2 separate regions of the Homo sapiens genome follow, and region 1 is linked to region 2. The links are contacts of gene promoters, found by promoter capture Hi-C in blood cells and fetal thymus (Javierre and others, 2016). All regions are on one chromosome and are shown on one strand. Each heading gives the region's core, a stretch centred on a gene start or on the middle of the fragment in contact. The rest is flanking DNA. Distances are from core to core; before and after follow the strand shown.

Region 1 (3,907 bases), core at 832-3,331, 520 kb after region 2:
TGTTCATGCAGAAATTTGTACACAAATGCTTATTATTGCTGCATTAGCTACAATAGCCAAAAGATGAAAACAACCCAAATGTCCATTGACAGATGAACAAATAACTTGTGGTATAAACATACAATGGGAATATTATTTTTCCATTAAAAAGAACGAATACTGGCATGTGCTACAGCTTGTATGAATCTCAGAAACATTATTACAAGTGAATGTAGCCAGCCACAACAGGTCATGTATTGTGTGATTCCGTTTATATGAAATATCCAGAGGTGGTGGTTGCAGATTTTGAATGTGCTAAATGTCACTGAATTGAATACTTTAAAATGGTTAATTGTATGTTATGTGAATTTTACCTCAATTTTTTAAATGGGTCATAAACTTATGTTTAGCATAATCCCCTTTTAATTTTAAAAAATGCAGATATTACATGAGAAAAAATGTGCTAGAGCATATTTCAAGACATTAAAGATGGTTATCAGTGAATGATGAGAAATTAGGTAATGTTTATTATTTTCGCTTTGCTAAAATTATTTAAAAATTACTTGCATATTAAATTTTTTAATGCCTAGGAAAGAAAGACTATAGTTGTATTGACTAAGATTTCTACGAGCATGGGGAAAATGCTTAATTTGTAGGGTTAATCAAGGATAAAATAAATTGCATTGTATGTACAATGTGATCCCAAGTATTTAAAACACACTGCTTATGGTAACAGTCAGTCTGTGGGAGACAGGTTAAAAAGTGATATTTTCCCTTCCTACTTTCCAAATTTTCTTAACAAACATATATTATGACTATAATCAGAAAAAATTATTTTTAAAACGTCTACTATGGGGCAAGCTAGGTTCAAAAAATAGAAGTTTGATAAATGTAGTTGGCTTGCTATTGACAAGGAAGACGTTTACACTGGAATTCTATATTTTGAGATATACCATTCCTCATAGAAAAATTTCCTCACAGAAAATATAAAGGTGGAAACAAATCACAAGAATCGAACCATGTAGAGAGACTTAGTTGTCTTTTAACAGAATTGGGCACGGGCTGTTCAGAAACAACAATCTTTCACATCCATTATAATGATAGCATTAGTGTAGTTTGTTTAGCAAATGTTTACTGTGAGCCTGTTATGTGCTGAGCCTGCTATGTAAGAAGTGTGGCTCTCTGGACAGGAGACAGAATACTAAACAACACAACTACTGATCTTTGGCTGCCTGGCATGCTTCCTCACTTCATATGGTATCAGCAATTTAGCACCACAAACGTCCTTTAGAGAACCAGCCCTTTCTCATTCTTGGTTCTAGTGGCTTGAGTAGACTGACCCCAGCCTACCCAAAGTGGATTTGACTCCTAGCAATTCATTAATCTAGCCCAATAAAATGTCAAGTACAGGACTTTTATTGAAAGCATTCAGAAAAGAGGTGGACTCTCACACTAAACATTTGTAACTAAATAAGGGATGTTAGAAATTCTCTAGAAAGGAAGCTATGATAATAAATGGGTTGCTAGATGGGTCTAGTAGATGGTGGCCATGCTTTGTTACTGCCTTGTGTATTGTGCTACCATAGCCCTCCCCAAACTGTACTCTGGCTCCTGGCATTTCCGTCTCTTCAACCAGATGGTCAGCTCTCTAAGTGAAGGAGACACATCTCCAACATGCTTGGTTCTAGCACAACAGAAGGGCTCAAACACATACCTGCTAAAGAAACTATCCTGATGGATTTAGCAGCATGGCCATGAGGCATTGGCGGTTCTATCACTGGGAACTCAGGTTTCTGGTGCTCCAGTACCTCTACTGGCTGATACCACATCCTACAATTCACTTCATAGGCTTGGGTTCCTGCTCTGGGCTGAATAGGTGGTCCACTCTGAGTCATCAGCTGTGGGTGATGATGTGGTCACTGCATGATTCTCACACAAGCACCCAGAGGACGTCATCAGGCAGAGGCAGTGGGGGTGGGCAGCATTTACAGAAAATCTGTGATGAGACACCACAAAACCAGAGGGGAACATGAAGTCACTGAGCCTGCTCCACCTCTTTCCTCTCCCAAGAGCTAAAAGAGAGCAAGGAGGAAACAACAGCAGCTCCAACCAGGGCAGCCTTCCTGAGAAGATGCAACCAATCCTGCTTCTGCTGGCCTTCCTCCTGCTGCCCAGGGCAGATGCAGGTGAGTGACCGTCTCCACCCTCGGGGGCCCAACCCCATCCCACAGGTCTCCTGCCCTTTCTCCACATTCCTGATCCATCTATCTACCAGGAATGTTCTGAACTCCAGCTCCCATTCTACCAAGACCCCCCAAGTGTGATGCTGGATAAGCTATCAGCAGGAATGGCAGAGCAGCAGGCCATTCTCAAGAAGAGCCAGTGGGTACTATCCCTTCCCCAGAGCCCACCTTTGTCACCTGGAGAGTAGGACTTTCCTAGAAGTAAATGGCAGAGGATGGGAAACTAGAAAAGAGAAATATTAAATTATTCTAGAGTAGGCCTGGCTTCTGTTTCTGGGATAAGACAGGTGCTTCTCTCACTGTCTACTTAGGAGAGAAACCCAGAGCTCAGCTGACAGCAGAATTGGTACAATCACTGTCCTCAGAACACTGTTAATGTGTTTGCTCAGTCCCATTCTCCAACTCTGCTTTTCTTCCCTGGCCTTTGGTGGCTCCCCTCTTTCCAAGGATGAGGCACTACGGCAGGCCCCAGCTTCCCTGCTTTCTAGAATTCCACCAGCACTGCTCTACCAGCCCTCATCCAGAGGCTAACTGGAGCCAGTCCATCATGCAGCCATGAACATTTACTGGGCACCCACTACATGTCAGGCTCTAGGAAACAGGATATGACAGTATCTAGATCCCTCCACTTACACCCTGGCCATTAGAAAGCAGCACTATCCTAGACACCACAGGACTCATAAGGGTCTTGGAAACTCACCTGAAACAAAGCAAAGTCAGGAGAGGAATGATCAGGAGCCTCTGGGATTTCACTGTCCCTAAGACAGGTATGCTCGCCTTCAACTACATATGGAAGAAAGATTTACAGACCAAAGTCTGCTGTTCTTCCCTTTTTCAGAGCAGGAAATTGAAGCCCCTTCCTCCAGGCCACTCCCAACTCCAGGCTATCCCAGGCTCCCAAATGCCCAGGAGTTCTGGAGCCACTAAGCAGGTGCCCACCCAGCAGATTCCATGGGTGCCCACAAGCAGACAGACTTTTCCTTCAGGGGAGATCATCGGGGGACATGAGGCCAAGCCCCACTCCCGCCCCTACATGGCTTATCTTATGATCTGGGATCAGAAGTCTCTGAAGAGGTGCGGTGGCTTCCTGATACGAGACGACTTCGTGCTGACAGCTGCTCACTGTTGGGGAAGGTGAGGAGCAGAAAACAGCCCACACCCTCCTGGAAACACTCCACAGAGACCCCTGCCTTCTTCCCAAGGAGCTCCCTGGGCTCCTGTGAACACACATGCCAGGAGGTCTCCTTAGAGGGTGAGAAAAGGGCAGTTAAGTTTGTGGAGAGAGGGGAAGGTTGGTTCCAGAGGTGCTGCTGAAGTAAGAAACAGCAGAGTGACCAAGCCTGCCATATTTAGAACTGGGGGCATACTTTGGCATAGAATACAAACTGAAGCAATTCCACCTGTGTTTCTAGGGGGAACCGAACCCTGAGAAACCTGGTGCAATTACCAGAATTCCAATTCCTGGGGACCGACTGTCCCCTTAATTTCCCCTCAGCTGCAGCCCTGCCCCAGCTGTCACCTGCTCTTCACTGTCTCTGGGCTGTATACCCTGTGACTCCACCCCCATCCTCACTCTGCTCTCTGTGCAGCTCCATAAATGTCACCTTGGGGGCCCACAATATCAAAGAACAGGAGCCGACCCAGCAGTTTATCCCTGTGAAAAGACCCATCCCCCATCCAGCCTA
Region 2 (3,822 bases), core at 241-2,740:
AGCACTGTAGGTAACTATAGTTAATAACAATATAAAGGTTCAAATAGCTACAAGGAGGATATTGAATGCTCCTAACACAAAGAAATGATAAATATTTGAAATGATGGATATGCTAATTACTCCAATCTTATCATTACACATTGTTTGTATTGTCATATCACTACGTACCCCATAAATATGTATGATTATCTACCCATTTAAAAATTTTTTTAATTTAAAAAATAGAAGAAAAAACCTTAGCTTTGGAATTTGGCAGAGTTAAAAAACCTTAGCTTTAGAATTTAGAGTTGCAGAGACAAGAAAAATTTCCCAAAAGGTATCTATAGATATTAAAAAACATTACAGAAGATTAAAAAGGGAAAGGGTAGGTTTTATGGTAAAATAATTTAGGGATATACAGAGTAAGCAAAGGTAAGCAGATGTCTTTTCATTACTGCAGAACTTCTCAGCACCTTTAACAAGCTACTGTGAGTTCTAAATATTCAAAAGGAAGTTAACAGTATATGAATGACTCAAATTTATTTGACGAAATGATTATTTTTTCCACTGAGTACCTCCTAAAATAGTGTTTAGAAGACAGCCTATGGAAAACATGGCTTAAAGGATAGAGGATACCATTTTATAACCAGGTAGAAACAAGAAGTAAAAAAGGAGAGATTAAAGAAGCATTAAGGGATACCTGATGGGAGAAGGGCTCAGAAAGTATAAGAAGGGATGTGGCAAAAGTGAACAGGTGGAGGCTAGAAGGGTGCTTCTTCCTCAGCTGTCTGAGAGGCATAAAGAGAGAGGGAGAGAAAAAAGTGTCAGCACATCTACACAGAGCAAAGGGAGTGGAGGAAATTCACAGGGGAAGACTTCATTCTTTTCACAAAAGAAAAGGTTAGATGTGCATAAAGGACAAAGGGCAGGGTTGACTAAGGGAAAGAGAAATATAAAGCCATCAGGGCCTGGGAAGGGGCACCAGGAACAAGGAATAAGTGAAGAAAGGGAGATGGGACAATATCAATTTCAAAAATATGCTTTTATTAACTGTCAAGATTGTAATTATGCATAAGCTTTGACCTAAAATTTCATTTTAATGGCATTTACTCCATATATATATATATACACACACATATACTTGTATAAGTCTGTAGTTACAAGCCCTAGGATGTTTATTAAAACACTGGTTATATAGCAGAAAATTTTTAAAAACATCTACATGTAAATTACTTAAGGATAGTTAATAAATTAGCCCACATTCTTGTATCAGAACAGTAGATAGGCAGACAATAAGAATATACTGACTTGAAAAGATGTCCAAGATATTTTATTAAGTGAAGAAATCAATTTATAGAACAATATGTATAACATGAACCCATGTGAAATAAGACAGTGCGTGTGTGTGTGTGTGTGTGTGTGTGTGCGCGTGCGCACATGCATGCACACAAAAAAATGTCTGGTGGTTGCATGTCTAAGTACATAGTTCTAGGCTATGGTTTTGGCGGAACTCAGGCTGGAAAAAAAGGAGGAATTTTTACCTTTTACTTCATATCCTTCTGTTTGGACATTTTTACAGTAAGCACATACTGCATTTATAGTTGTTACAGTTTGTTCCTTTCTGGATCTGCACTCTTGAGACCCTCCTCCTTCTCCCCTGCAGCACGACTTTGCCTCCCAGCTCCCAAGAATCAAGGGCAGGCTGTACTCTCCTGATGTGACTCAGGCCCTCCTAGACCTCAGGGCCTCATGAAAGACAGAGTTTGCTTAGATTTACTGATAATTTCACTTTGTGACTTCACTTTGTGGCCAGTCCTTTCTGGCTCTCTGATCTTCAGACCACAAAAATGTCATCCAGCTCTAAGTTTGATCCCAATTCTACGCAGACTAGAAAGGGCATGCTGGGACAATGACAAAACATTAATTTTGGGGGCAAACAAGCTTTGTTTCCAATAAATAACATAGAATGAATTCCTGGAACATAAGTGTGTTATGTTCACCATAAATGTGTTACATAAGTGCAGCCTGATCACATAATACTAAAAAATCAGTAAAAATACCGATTTGAAATTATTTTTATAGAAACATGATTTTACCTGAACTTCCCTATTATTTTTTCTATGGACTCAAAATTCTTCTCTTATTTTTATTTTATTTATTTTCAAGGAGAAATTCATTGTCCGATATTCACTTTTCAGAAAATTCAGTCAAAATTTGCTTACAAGCCGTGCAGATGTTTCTTATAACCACTAGGGGTCAGACTACTACGTTAGTAGAAGTCAAACCCAACTTGAAACGTGGTATTAATTGGTTGAGGATCAGGCTGACATTCTCCTGCATAAGAACAGAAGACTGACCATTTAAATTAAACATTTTATAAAGGAGATAATGAGAAAGAATGCATTTGACAAGAGAGACTCAGAAAGTTGAAACTATCATATATATAATAAATATAACATAGTAAAGAAATTTCATCCTTAATAAAAATTTCAATTATTCACTTGCTCATTCTCATTGGCAAGATATTACTCCAGTCTAAGTGGGCTCAGATCAGAGGATTAATCATTGAACTGGGCAAATGTTAAGAGAGCAGAAACAACTAAAATCATGAAACTGTCAACAAAAAAGAAGAAATCCTCATTTATAAAGGATAAACCACATGACTAGCAGAGGATTGAGATGAATGGCAGAAACATTTTTCCAATGGATTTCAGCCATGGTAACAATAAATCTGAGTCATCTCACAGCAATGGGTGTATTCAGGAGTGTGGGCAGAGGGCAGCTCTGGACTGGGCCTCTGTTCCACTCCCAGCTCTGCCACAAATTGACCCTGTGGTCCTGAACACACTCCTTCTCTTCTCCTGATCTCAAAATGTCTTGAGTAAGATTACATGATTTATAAAGAATCTTCAGGCCTTAAAATTAAACAGATTTATCTAACAATATTGTTACATAAAAGGTAAGAAAGTGAGGGGAAAACTTGCCAAGATTTAAGTTTTAACAAAAATTTTACAAATGAGGGTATTCACTCTCAAGATACATTATTACAAATTGTGTTTTTTAAAAATGGAACAAACTGAGATCATAGACCATATTTACTGTCAGACAAAGTAATAAAAAGTCAAAATTTATTTACATTTTTAATGATAGTGTTTTGAAGTAAATACTCTAAGTGTATATGTAAACATATATGCGGGTTATTCCCTGGAATGATAAACAAATTAAAAAGTGGTTACCTGTTGGGGGCGGGGTAGAATTAAATGGATATGGATAGTGTGGCTATAAGAATATAAGGTTTGCTTCTTCATATATTGTTTTGATGTTTTTGTGATTGTATTATATGATGTATTACATTTTTTAAATTTTGAATATATCCATTGCCTATTCAAATTTTTTAAAAATTAATTTTAAACTTTATACATAGGACAAAAATGTGGGCCAATACAAAAATAAACACAACTGAATATGAAAATCCTCCATGATTTGAATGGGGGTTAGAAATGACACAGGGATATTCGTTACTAATATAAGTTGGCAATACAACAGTGATACTGTGTTTTAAATGGCCTGCATCAAAATACCTCAACCAAATTGGTCACATCTTAATGGTTGTATCTAAAGATTTTATTTGGTAGATTTTTCACCTGTGCCCCAAACCCTCACTGAGCTGCTTATACCTCATATGACACCAAATCAGGAGAAGGAAGAAGTTCCTCCCTCCCCCTTTTTTCTTTACATACACACATGCATGCACACACAGGCACACACTGGCTTGTGTGTCAATGAATATTAATATATGCAAATAAACAATGGAGATGGTTACAGGGAAATTGATTCTGCAAA

The links. The method cuts DNA at HindIII sites, captures the fragments that hold promoters and counts their contacts. A CHiCAGO score of 5 or more calls a contact.
Region 1: a contact is called between the fragment with the promoter of GZMB here and a fragment that was not itself captured in region 2, in 5 of 17 cell types (total CD8 T cells, total B cells, naive B cells and 2 more). The highest score is 9.6, in total CD8 T cells.

What each region holds. Positions count from the first base shown.
Region 1 is chr14:24,632,364-24,636,270 of GRCh38, reverse strand. It overlaps GZMB (granzyme B), which reads left to right and starts at 2,081. Exons shown (of 5, transcript NM_004131.6): 1 at 2,081-2,165; 2 at 3,209-3,356; 3 at 3,812-3,907. The coding sequence starts at 2,111. It overlaps GZMH-AS1 (GZMH and GMZB antisense RNA 1), which reads right to left and starts at 3,169. Exons shown (of 3, transcript XR_007064087.1): 1 at 2,923-3,169; 2 at 1-1,975. RefSeq lists an enhancer at 1,503-2,702. The HindIII fragment of the contact is 9,884 bases long and covers 1-3,907 here.
Region 2 is chr14:25,149,529-25,153,350 of GRCh38, reverse strand. All of the region lies in intron 2 of LINC02286 (long intergenic non-protein coding RNA 2286), which reads left to right. Among named protein-coding and RNA genes, the nearest start is that of LINC02286, 4.8 kb to the left of the region's middle. The HindIII fragment of the contact is 865 bases long and covers 1,058-1,922 here.